Linked DNA regions of Homo sapiens: all the other regions are linked to region 4. Evidence: promoter capture Hi-C in 16 types of primary human blood cells and fetal thymus (Javierre and others, 2016). All regions are on one chromosome and are shown on one strand. The core of a region is centred on a gene start or on the middle of the fragment in contact, and the rest is flanking DNA. Distances in the headings are between cores, read along the strand shown. Region 1 overlaps DESI2 (desumoylating isopeptidase 2). Region 2 overlaps COX20 (cytochrome c oxidase assembly factor COX20). Region 3 overlaps HNRNPU (heterogeneous nuclear ribonucleoprotein U). Region 4 holds the start of FH (fumarate hydratase).

Region 1 (3,259 bases), core at 238-2,737, 3.1 Mb after region 4:
TAGAGCATAAATGAAAGGAGACAAAACTGAAAGTTTGATTAGAACTTCTTTAGTCAGATGTGTTGTGGGCTTGGGTGAAGGGCTGAGGGGGCTCCTTGAGCCAGCAGAACCATTTAAGGTTTTCATGGAGGGGAACAGTGTGATCAGTTGTTTAGATTGAGATACAAATTTTGGTCTGTTATACTAATTTTTCTCAAGTCAGTTTTGGTTTTTGAAATATTTTTGTTTGATGCCAAGGGTAAATTCCTTTTATCTTTGGTAATTCTTCCTATTCATCAGAGATGCTTTGGATGAGGGTTGCTGTTGTCTGTATAGGCCTAGTACATCAGCTGTCTGGTTCCAACTCTGTAAATATGAAAATCAACCTTAGGGATGCCCTTATAATCATGGTTATAGGGACCTCTTGCCATGTGTCCTTGTGTCTCTTTGTTAGATTGTCACCCGTTCCAGTTCTGATTGTATTTTTCTATTTTCTAGATTGGGCTGCTGCGGATCATTTCTTTTCTTCCATAACTCTGCCGTATGCATGAAAATAATTCTATTGGGGGTCACCAGTATTAACTTCCTTCTCATGGAAGAAGAGTGTGATCCTCAGAAGGTTACTTAATTATGCATAGTGTTCCTATTGCTTGCTGCCTTATCAGTGATTATGTTCCTCTGTGTACTTTGGAGTAATCTACCACCAATAAAAACGTCCTGGAGCTACTTTCTGAGTCGTGGGAATGAGCTTGTTCACGTATTCCTAATTGACTGGCACACATAGCAAAGCAGGTGACTCAGATTAGTTTCAAATACTGAGACAAATCTCTGGTGTAGTCATTTTAAGTCTTCATTTTTCATAGATCCAGATTTTGTGCTTTTCAGGTTATCTTGACTAATGAATTTTTATAAAATAAAAATATGCAGGTATTTGATAATGTTTGCAAATTCATTGTGTTAACAAGTTTCTACCAGTTTTATTTATTTATTTTATTTATTTGTTTTCTCACTCTGTCACCCAGGCTGGAGTGCAGTGGTGCGATCTCGGCTCACAGCAACCTCTGCCTCCCCAGTTCAAGTGATTCTCCCGCCTCAGCCTGCCAAGTAGCTGGGATTACAGGCACCTGCCATCATGCCCGGCTAATTTTTGTATTTTTGTAGAGGTGGGTTTCACCATGTTGGCTAGGCTTTTCTCAAATTCCTGTCCTCAAGTGATCCGCCCGCCTCAGCGTCCCAAAGTTCTGGGATTATAGGCATGAGCCACTGTGCCCAGCCAGTACCAATTTTATTATAAAGTAGTACCTATACATCTTCAAAGTCTTTAAAGAATAGAAAAGAACCACTTTCTAGGACACTTCAAATAAGGACATTTTTGTCTGGACTCCGTTCTTTTGACGCCTGTCTCCATTAGACTCCTCCAACAGGGTGTCAGGTCAGGCAGGTGTGATAGATCCGATTTCTCATACATCTGCAGATCTAATTCAGACTTTTTGAACAAGTTCCAGAATCACACATCCCACCTAAATGGTTCCTTCGTATCTCAAATCAACATGTCCAGGAACAAACTTCTTCCCTTTCCTCCTGTCCACAGCGCACATTCTTCCTCTTGCCCCATGCCACTGCCCAAAAAGCCACCACTTTTGTTGTAGTTTCCCAAACCGGAAACCTGGGAGTAAACTTAAATTCTTCTTTATTATAAACCCTTCACAGTCAGTCAGCTGGCCCTGTCTCTTTGTTTTAGTTTGGTTGATTCTGTCTGAAAGCAACAGAGAGCTTGAGAGTCAGTGGCTTAAGCTGGAAGGATACTTAAGTCCAGAGATAAACAGGCCCTGGATTAGTTCAGCAGCTCAGCTGTGCCATCAAGAACCAGGACTTTCCATCCTTTTACTCTACCATCCTCAGCACGTTGGCTGTTGCCCTTGGTTCGTCCTCTCATAATTGTAAAGTAACTGCCATAAGCACCAAATAGTATCCTCAGTCAGCAGTATGTGAAGGAAGATGGAAGAAGATAGGGTCATTTTCTACATGCACCTCTGTTCTTTTAATAGAAAGGAAAAACTTACCAGAGCCCCACTCCTTCCCCGAAGAGATTATCTAGAATTGGCTCGTGTGCAACTGTGATGAAGCTGAGTAAGTGGATATCTGGTGTTTCTAACCTTTATGGTGAGTTGTGGGTGAGGAAGGCAAAAAGTTGGAAATGGCAGTTTGATGGGAACCTATGATGTCTGTCACATATTTTACTTTCTGGATATTATTTAAATCGGTTACTTTATCCCCATTTCCACTAATGCTTCTCAAGTTCAGGCCCTCATCTCTATTCATATAATAGCCTCCTTACGAGTTTCAGTCTCTAGTATTACTTCATTTTAATCCTTCCTCCATTCTGTTACCAAAGTAACCTTTCTGAAACATAACCAGGATAAAGTGTAATGCACTTTATGATGTGGCCCCTGGCTGACAGTTAAAGGTCCATTTCCCTCTTCTATATAACAGTCTTTATTCTCACACAGTGAAATTTTTTAGCTGTCCAAACAGGCTATATCACATCCCCATATCTTTATGCATGCCCATCCTTCTGTCTGGAGTGGCATTGTCCAGCATTGATCACCTGCAACCTCCTGCTTGCTCCTTCTGGCTGTAGCTTAGTCTTTATTCCTGAGACTTGAGTGAACTCCTATGCCCTAGTTGTGCTTCGTGCCTGTCTCCATTACTGCGTATACTATCCCGTGCATCCCACCAGACTGTGAGTTCTCCGATAGCGCCATACTATGACCAGTGTCTAGAACAGGGCCTGTCACTAGATGGTGTTCTAGAAATATCCGCTCAATGAGTGGGGCTTTAGCTGGTTTTTATTAGGAGAGTTGCCAGTAACTTAAATGGCATGAAAAGATCATGTGATCTTCCTCTTTGTGCCAAATGCCTATTTCTGGTGTTTTTTTCTTGTACCTTTGCTTAAGTGCATTGCTAGATTTTAGCTTTGATTGTTGGACTAGGGTGTCCAGATGAAGGGGAGGGGAGGATTATAGGAATGGGACAGAAAAAAATCAAATAGTTTTCTTTGACAAAACTTAAAATACTATGGGACTAGACTGAGGAAATGTTTTTAATAAGTTTATTTCTTGAAATTGGATCTTAATTACTCTTTGGAAGATAATCTTTCCGAAAACATTGTCAGTTCCTGAATTTTAACATAAATTAACTAGTTAATAGGAATAATAGGAGCTGGTCATCCATCTTTTTTTTTTTTTTTAAACGGTAAGGAATTTACCTTAATTTACTT
Region 2 (3,077 bases), core at 256-2,755, 3.3 Mb after region 4:
TATTCATCACATTTAACATAGGAGTAATTGCTGAGGGATGACTTGATTGTACTACGATGAGATGAAGGGTTAAGATTTCTTCCCCATCACCAGTAGCCTCCCTAGCTGGTGTCCCTGTCTCCATACTCTCCTGAATCCACCTTCCACTATTGTCCGCTGGCCCTTTCCAGCCTGTAAACTGGACAGTTTTCATTCCTCTGCCTAACATCCAGTCGTAGCAGCCCATCCTATCTCTTTAAGGATAAAACCCAAATTCTTGGTATAGTAAAGCTAAACCAAGCGCTCTCCCTGGAAGGGCTCCTGTGTTTCACCAAAGCTGACTTACGTACTTTCCCCATCTTCCCAGGCATCTTGTACGTCGTTACATTTATCATATTGGAAGGTAATAAATGATCTTGTTTTCCTCTTTTCCTGGGCTCCTTATTAAGAGCAGGGAACCTAATTTATATCCTCAGGGCAGAACAGGTATTCAGAAAAGAATAATGCAAGAGGAAAAAAGTTTAATATAAACTAGGGAGATCGTAACATTGGCTAATCACGAGCAAATATTTATAGAAGACCCACTGTGTGCTAAATGGCTCCTAATATATACTTAAGATATTCTCCCAGCTTGGAAATTCTGCTCACTTCTTGCTCTTGCTTGCTTCTCTGGTGGGCTTCCATCCAAATTTGGCCATGACATCAGATCATATGGTTAATATTAACAAATATTGTATAAATTGTTTTCATACTTAATATCCAACAGGTTGTCAGTTTACGTACTACTGGTGCCTTATCTGTTTTTACTGTCCCATACACTGCCCATCTGGAATAAGCTTAGTGTTTAAAAAAAAAAAAAGATCTTTGCATACACACAGTAAATCCTAGATTCAGTTTTGTGATAAACACTGGAATCCTGAATGGGACTTTTGGTAGGAGATAACTGCTGTTTTTAAAGGTCATAAAGGTGGTTTAATCCATTGGAAATTAAAAAAAAAAAACTTAAAAGAGGATCAACATTGACCTATTTAACTGGCCCATCAGTAAGTAGCAAAACAATACTGTAGTTGTTGAAATGAAGATAGTTATAAGCCTCAAACCGAGCACAGTCAGAGGTGGGAGGCCAAAAAAACAAAAATTGCTCATGAAACAGTAGTACCTATCAGAGCCCATCAAAAAGCTAATTAAATTAATAGAAGCTATGATGAATTAACAGCCCAAGGTGCTGTCAGAAAGGAAGCCTGCGGTTATTTTTTTTAAAAGAATTTGTCAGTGATCATTCCAGCACAACCCAGGGAGGATTATTTTATTATAAGAATTAGCAAACCTAAAGTAAAAATGGGAGTTACCAAGCTGGCATACCTTGATAGAACTAGCCCCTAAAAACTGTCCTCTGCCACATTCTTGTCCTTTAAGAAACTTTAAAATGTGAAATTTGGTACATACAGGTAAATTCACATTCAGGTAAATTCTTAATTCACCCATTCAAAAAATATTTAGAGTACCTACTGAGTATTAGACACTGAACGAGGTACTAGACTGATCAAGACAGGAAAAATCCCTTTAAGGAGCTGACATTCTACTGGAGGAATCAATAAGCAAGACTTCTACTGAGCCAGTCATGCAAAGATCCAGGAGAAAGGCAGCATGTGTTCGTTCGGTAATAACCATCTCGGCTTGTTAGAATGGCAAGGCCACTGTACCTGGACTAGTGGACAAGAGTAGGATATGAAAGAGCATGGGATCATGTAGGGCCTTTGGAGCAATGGTAAGGATTCTGAGCATAATCGGAGGCTACAGAGGACTTATTATAGTCATCTGATACACATTTTTATGAGTAGAATCAAGATCTGAAAGGTACTGTTGATAGATGGTAATTTGATAGGACAGGTTGAGCTTCCCAATTCAAAAAAAAAATTGTCTTTTGATGTATCAGTTTCAGATTTGGGATGCTCAACCTGTATTAGCAATGAAGTTGGTGGGCAGTGGTCTGGCTCAGGATGTATTTAGAATGTGGATCCTTCCAGACTTGCTAATATATTTGATGTGGATTTGATGAAGGAATCAAGGATGACTCTTAGTTTTTGGGTCTGAAAATTGGTTGAGTAGTGTGCCATTAAGAGGAAGGTTTGGAGGTGAAAATATATTTTGCAAATACGAGGTTCAAGGTGCTTTTTATACATAAAAGTGTCATTCATTAAGCAGATGAATGAGGCTGAAGCTTGGGAGAGATTAGGGTTTGATTTAGAAATCTGGAGTCATCATATAATGGCATTTAATTGAAAGCCTTGGGATACCTAGGAAGAGACTAGATTCCAAAGGAGTTAAGAGTGGCACTTCAGAATCAGGTCTGTAGAGGAGGGAACAGCAACAAAAATGTCAATGAAATAGAAAACCAGGAGACGTATTTGAAGCCAAGTAAAAGTAAAAAAGTTTCAAAAACAAATGATAATTTGTGCCACATATGCTGAGATGCGGATTTAGACTGCAGTGGATGTCTTTTAGAGGTCTTGACTGGTGTCAAGTGAAGTTCAGTGGATAGATGCCTCACTCAAGTGAGTTAAAGGGAGAATGGGAGGTTTTAAGTAGAAAAGCACACCTACACTCAGAAGTTTTGCCCCAAAAGGATGGTGGTTTAGGTGGCTGATGAGAGGAGAGGGGTGTATAGAGGATTTTTGGGTTTTTTTTTTGAGATGGAGTCTTCTTGCTCTGTTGCCCAGGCTGGAGTGCAGTGGTGCCATCTTGGCTCACTGCAACCTCCGCCTCCTGGGCTCAAGCGATTCTGCCTCAGCCTCCCGAGTAGCTGGGATTACAGGCATGTGCTACCATTCCTGGCTAATTTTTGTACTTTTAGTAGAGACAGGGTTTTGCCATGTTGGCCAGGCTGGTCTCGAACTTCCGACCTCAAGTGATCCACCCACTTTGGCCTCCCAAAGTGCTGGGATGACGGGTGAGCCACTGCACCTGGCCAAGAGGGCTGATAGTAAATTATTGCAAGTGAAAAAACTAACGATGCAAATGAAAGGGGTAGCTATAGAAGCCAAGCCCTTGAGTATGCAAGAGGGGAATCAAGTGCCCAAGTGGGAAGACTAGCATTA
Region 3 (2,500 bases), core at 1-2,500, 3.3 Mb after region 4:
CACAACCTAGTGAAAAGAAAAGAAATGTCATTTCACTGTCAGTAGACACCACCTAATAATTCTTTAAATATTGTTAAGGCCAATTTAAATATCTAAGTTTTCATAGCCCTTACACTAACGGACAAAAATTTGTTTATGGAAAGATTAACAGTCAACATAAGGGGGAAACAATTACTTAAGAGCAATATGCACAGCACAAAGTAAATGAAACAGACTAATCATCTAGTTCTTCTAAATGTCATTTTGTGCCAGGCAAGCAATATTCAAATGCCACAGTTAAAAAAAAAAAAATCCCTTACTTCACAATCTTTCTTCTCTTCAGGCCCCTTTGGTCCTCTAACTCGATCCTCTAAGGGGACGTTCTGGATGAAAGTATACTCTTCAGGTATTGGAAAATATGGCTTTTCCTTCTGACCAAAATTAAATTCAACTGCACAGTTGTGGCAGAGAACATGCGGGAACAGTGGCCGTCCAGCAAGAACTTCCTTACTGATTTTGAAGGCAACGCCAAGATCTTGTCCATTCTTAGCATACGAGAGTTCTACTTCATCACTTTCAAAGTTCTGTTACACAGAAAAAAATTCAACAGTTAAAATCTGCTTCCTTAAACTTTCTAAAAAACTAAGAATTAAAATTAGGAGCAAAGCTTATCCTGTGGAAGCTACAGGTTAAAGAACTATTAGGTGGCCTTTAAGGGCTACACAGTTAAGAAATCTGATGGTTGTAAACCATGAAGCACGTATCTCCAGAACCAGAAACAATACTGACCTAGAAGCTAGACTGAATTTTCTAGGTCAATTTCATGTTCACTGTTTTCAGTCAAAATGAATTAGTGAGTTCCTCAAAAATGTCCTGTGTTTTCCCAATTCAACTGCTGAATGAAGTCTTTACACTAATCCAGGGACTGGTGTATTTTGTTGCTCATATTGAAAACTGACCTCAGTAAAGCTTCTTTAAAGTTCCTAGATATAGCTACTAACTTTGCCATTTATACATAGAAAGTTAGCTTTAACTTACAGCAAAACATGTAATCACATCATTTTCATCAAACTTTTCTCCATAATCTTCAGTCTCACAGTTGCATGTTTTTATTCCTTTTAGAGAATACCCATAAGAAAATTCTTCTTCACCTAAGAAAATAATTAATCTTCATGAAGTAGATGTTTAAAATAGTCCAAAGACTCATCTATTTTACTACTTAAGATGTAGGCTACAAGAGAAATAAGCATATAACCTAATCACCTGTCACTGACACTATTACTTTTCTATCTCTGTACCAGAATTGATGGAAGTTAGGAGGGATATATACGCAGAGACCAAATTAGTTGACGATTTGCATATCACGGGTAAGATTTTATTTCAACCATTGGTCATAAACTTCTAATAAAGGAACAAAAACTAAAATGTAGCCTGTGCCTACTATGTGCTAATATTACCTGTCTGAAGTATTAACAGAATAGATAAAAACAGACAAAAGGCTTAGAATGCCCTCTAGTTAAAAAACACTGAAATCAGACCCTCCTGAACATTCATGAGCCCACATCAGTCAAAAAGAAGCTTTACCAAGTAACATTCCACTTGTAGTTAGTGACCAGCCAATACGAACTTCATGTATGTCAATATCTTTTGTATATAAATGCCTTACTGGGATCTTCTCTGTAACCTGAAAGTCAAATCATTAAATAATTAAAATAATACACCAAGGAGGTAACCCCTTAACTCTCGCATATTTCATTGCGCCACGGGCTAATCTTCCTCTAGCTATAAATACAAAGAAGGCACACTCTAGCCCACCCCCAATATTTGTAAGAACTTTAAACTGATGTGCTTATAACTTGAAATTTAAAGAGTTAAATACTTATTTGACCCATATTTAAAAGAATACTTAATATTTTTAAAGTTCATGTTGTCAGTCTTTAACTTAAAGCCAATTAAAGGATACAATTAATGTTTTTCTCACCAACAAAAGCAGTAATGTAACCAAATTTTATTTTTAACTCTTTGGTGGCCCTTTCAAATGCTTGATAAAAATGAAGTACCCTAAATAAAAAATCGCCTAGCTCTGCATGGCAAGTTCTAACATAACAACCGTGATTAACTGTCACAACAAAATGAAGGTTCCAAGCTCCTCTTTTAATTTACAGGAAGCTTCAAAAATAAGTACCTTTGATAACTTAGCAGTATGAAGCACCTGTAATTCCAGCATTCTGAGAGGCTCAGGCGGGCAGATCACTTGAGCTTAGGAGTTCAAGACCAGCCTGGGCAACATGGTGAGACCTTGTCACTATTTTAAAAAGGAAAAAAAAAGGCTGGGCACAGTGGCTCATGCCTGTAATCCCAGCACTTTGGGACGCCGAGACAGTGGATCACCTGAGGTCAAGAGTTGGCGACCAGCCTGGCCTACGTGGTGAAACCCCATCTCTATTAAAAATACAAAAATTAGCCAGGTGTGGTAGTGTGTGCCTCTAGTCCGAGCTACTTGAGAGACTGAAGCAAGGAG
Region 4 (3,360 bases), core at 827-3,326:
TGAAAACGGTCTAAGAATGATTATTTGAAATTTATAAACATTATTTATATATAAACATTATTCACATATATTACATATGTATATTCATTTATATAAGAAATGTATAAACATTATTTACATATATAAACACTATATATATGCCATCATGCTACCAAGTCAGTATCACAGTTGGTCTGCCTGTTAAATATTCTCATTCTCAATGCACTTTTTAATGCATTTTTAATAATCAATGATCACACTAATTATTCATGTGTGATTTATTTGCTTATTTAACTGCTTTGCTTATTTAATCTCCACTAAAGACAAGAATAAAACACTGCCTGTAAAACCCTATCCCCATAGGGACTGTCTTATTTACAGGGCCTGGTAAGTGGAAGGCACTCAATAAACAGTATCTTTCTATTGAATGAATTTGTATGTGTTCTTTTAAATAAAAGGTACCTTAGGGCATCAAGGGTTATGTGAAATTCTCAACATTAGCAACAGGAAGAACTTTTAACAAAACCAACAGAGATTTTGGACCTGAGAATGGTTAGAGGGCAAAAAGTACCAGAACTAGAAAAAACAAAAACTACCTCCATCTGATTTTAGCTAACATTACAATTCTAAGAGCAAAGTAGTGCTGCTATTTTTTGACATTTGCATCAACAGGATAGATTCAGAAGTTCTCCAGTCTGCTTCCCTTTACAAAACACTAAATAAACAATAAATAAATTTAAAAATATGTAAAGGTTTTAAAATGCCCTAAAATTATTCGAGCAGGGAGTTCGAGGAATACAAAACATCTCTGATTCTGTAGTATAGTTGTATATCGTAGGTATAGTGACCCAATCAAATTATCTTGAAGTTTAGAGTCCAGAAAAAGTACTGGCCCTTTGAAATACCCTAGATGGGGCACTTATTTAATGAGCACTCGCTACATGGTATTTTCACATGTGCAGTTTTGCTGAGTAGCTGTAAGTATTTCAACTTTGCATACGGATTTGAAATCACATCTCTTAGATTGCAAACCTCATGCTACACCAGTGCAGAACTGTAACTCTTCAACTATCATTTCTCAAACGTTTCCTAACAATATACATATGTATTTAAAGCTTTTTAAAAGCCTGCATTCCTAAAGATGACACTCTAAAGAGCAAAATGACTTACGTAAGCATGTCATAACCTGAACTTGGATCTTTAAGTTCTTAGCTGGCTTTCTGAATAAAAAGTACCGATTCAGCTCCTAGCCAATCTGCTCAAACATGCTTCAGAACACTATGCCCGCGGTATTCGGAATTGAAGAGTTTTACAACAATTACGGGGGAAACCATAGTCAGCCTAACAAACTGAGCATGCAATTTCAAAGGAAGTAAAATCTTCGAAGAACCTTCTACCCCACCTGGAGGGCCTGAAAGCAGTGCAGTGCCCCTTGGCGAAACAAACCACAGTTCAGAAACCACTAGATGCACAGGCGGCCAGTGTCCGGCCAGCAAGGCCCAGCTATGGGGCAGGACGGTGCGGGAGCTGCCCCTCTCCCAGCACCCTCCGCCCACGCCGGCACTGTCCTTGAGGGCAGCGCCCCGGGGCTGGGGGCCTGCGCGCCAGCAGCAGCGAAGTTACCTCAAAACGCCCCGGCCTCGGCCCGCCACGGACGGCTCCGAGGAGGCGCCGGGAGCGGGCCCAGTAGGACCCTCTCTGACAGCCCCCGTCCCTCCCCAAGCGCTCTCCCGGGCTGCGGCTCCATCCCTGCGCCGGAAGAGGCGTCCCGAGGCCGGGAGGCCCGCCACGCCGGCACGGGCGCTAAGCCCAGAGTCTGGCGCGGCCCGGACGCCCGGGGAATCTCTCCCGCCAAGTCGCGGGCGCCCAGGCCGGCAGGCAGGAGGGCTGAAGGTCACTGCGGGGAGGCCGGGGGATGGCGGCCTGCGCTCACCATTCGAGCCGCGTTCGGAGGCCAAAACGAGGGCACGGCCGCGCCACCCAAGCCGGGAGCCGAAGCTAAGGCTGCGGCTGGAGCCCGCACGAGGGGACGCGAGCGCGCGAGGAGCCGAAGTGCTCGGTACATGGTGCTGAGGGAGCTTGGGTAGAATTTCTGGGCGGCTGTGGCCACGCCTCCACGCCGGTTGTCAGAAACCGTTCCGCCCACCGGCCTCCGCTCTTATCCAATCAACAGCCTCACACCGACAGGTGGGGCAGGACCAATCGTGAATGACCAGTAAAGAATGAGGGGGCGGGTTAACTTTCTAGTAGTAGTGTGGGGTGTAAGGCCTTCGGATTCATGGGAAACTAGAAAGAAGGGAATTATGGGAAAGGAGGCTCAGGTTATTCTTGGAGCCGGTCTGATTTTTACGTGTGGCTGTTAGAAGGCGGGAGTATTAGTTGGTGAATCAGGTCGTGTTTGGTTGGTGAAATATCCTAGAAAGAAATATTTATTGTTTTATTTATCATGTAATCACTCATTACACGTTCTTACTACTGAAATCTTTCTTCATTTCTTCCAGATTGTATCTTCTGTGTAGAAATTTTGGGAAGTGCAGCAAAGTGTAGATAATGAAATAGTAATTATTCATAATCCCACAACTGAAAAATAAGCTACTTACTTATTTCTTTTAACTTATCATTTTGAGATCGCTACCGTTTCCTTTCTCTTCTTAGCCTATACCCTCAGAACTCTTTTTTTTTTTTTAATGTATTGTGGAAGACGTACACAATTATAGGGAACCTCGGAATTTTTATTATTTGTATATCGTTCTCCCAGTTTTTTGCATAGCTAATTTATACATTTTCAAATTAAAGGCATATTGTTTTAATATAATAGTTGATTACAGAAAAGCAGGAATTGATATAAAATTGCATCTGAACCACAGTTTTATCTTTTCTCTTTTCTATTGCTTGGAACCAGATGACAGTAAAGAGAGAGCGATCGGATGTTCTTAAAATCAAAAGTCCAGAACCTGCAAAGCCAAATTTATGAGTCAAACTTACAAACTTGCCAAACCTTTTGGTAACATTATGTTATTTTGTGACTTATAAATTTGACACATATTTAAAATATAAAAATTCAAATGAGATTGTAATAGTTGAACTACAATCAAAACACACTAGAAAACTGAATGCAAATTCTTTAAAACATTGCTAATAATGGAATGACGTTTTGTTTTTGTTCTCCTCCTTCCCAGCAGGTATCATTATTGTGTATATCATTATTTTGATGCATCCTTTCAGTTCTGTGTATTTTTTGCTTCATACACTAATATACAAACAATGGTTTTAATATTTTACTTTAAAGTTTTACTGTTGCATAATTGAACTCTATGCTTTTAAGATATAGCCATGATCTTTTAAAATTAATCATATTGGATCACATGAATATGAAATATT

What was found. Contacts are between HindIII fragments. The CHiCAGO score rates a contact against its expected background, and 5 or more counts as called.
Region 1: a contact is called between a fragment that was not itself captured here and the fragment with the promoter of FH in region 4, in 3 of 17 cell types (total CD4 T cells, non-activated CD4 T cells and fetal thymus). The highest score is 8.9, in total CD4 T cells.
Region 2: a contact is called between a fragment that was not itself captured here and the fragment with the promoter of FH in region 4, in 1 of 17 cell types (total CD4 T cells). The highest score is 5.0, in total CD4 T cells.
Region 3: a fragment that was not itself captured here is called in contact with the fragment with the promoter of FH in region 4 in 2 of 17 cell types (total CD4 T cells and total CD8 T cells); the score reaches 8.3 in total CD4 T cells.

What each region holds. Positions count from the first base shown.
Region 1 is chr1:244,655,819-244,659,077 of GRCh38, forward strand. The region is part of intron 1 of DESI2 (desumoylating isopeptidase 2); the gene reads left to right. Among named protein-coding and RNA genes, the nearest start is that of DESI2, 4.3 kb to the left of the region's middle. The HindIII fragment of the contact is 7,268 bases long and covers 1-3,259 here.
Region 2 is chr1:244,836,139-244,839,215 of GRCh38, forward strand. The region is part of intron 1 of COX20 (cytochrome c oxidase assembly factor COX20); the gene reads left to right. Among named protein-coding and RNA genes, the nearest start is that of COX20, 2.0 kb to the left of the region's middle. The HindIII fragment of the contact is 1,385 bases long and covers 814-2,198 here.
Region 3 is chr1:244,857,712-244,860,211 of GRCh38, forward strand. HNRNPU (heterogeneous nuclear ribonucleoprotein U) reads right to left here. Exons shown (of 14, transcript NM_031844.3): 5 at 1,564-1,663; 6 at 1,018-1,130; 7 at 300-563; 8 at 1-6. Among named protein-coding and RNA genes, the nearest start is that of SNORA100, 4.7 kb to the left of the region's middle. The HindIII fragment of the contact is 609 bases long and covers 947-1,555 here.
Region 4 is chr1:241,517,679-241,521,038 of GRCh38, forward strand. FH (fumarate hydratase) reads right to left here and starts at 2,077. Exons shown (of 10, transcript NM_000143.4): 1 at 1,913-2,077. The coding sequence starts at 2,044. RefSeq lists silencers at 1,512-1,781, 1,957-2,239, 2,062-2,191 and an enhancer at 1,855-2,451. The HindIII fragment of the contact is 3,380 bases long and covers 1,093-3,360 here.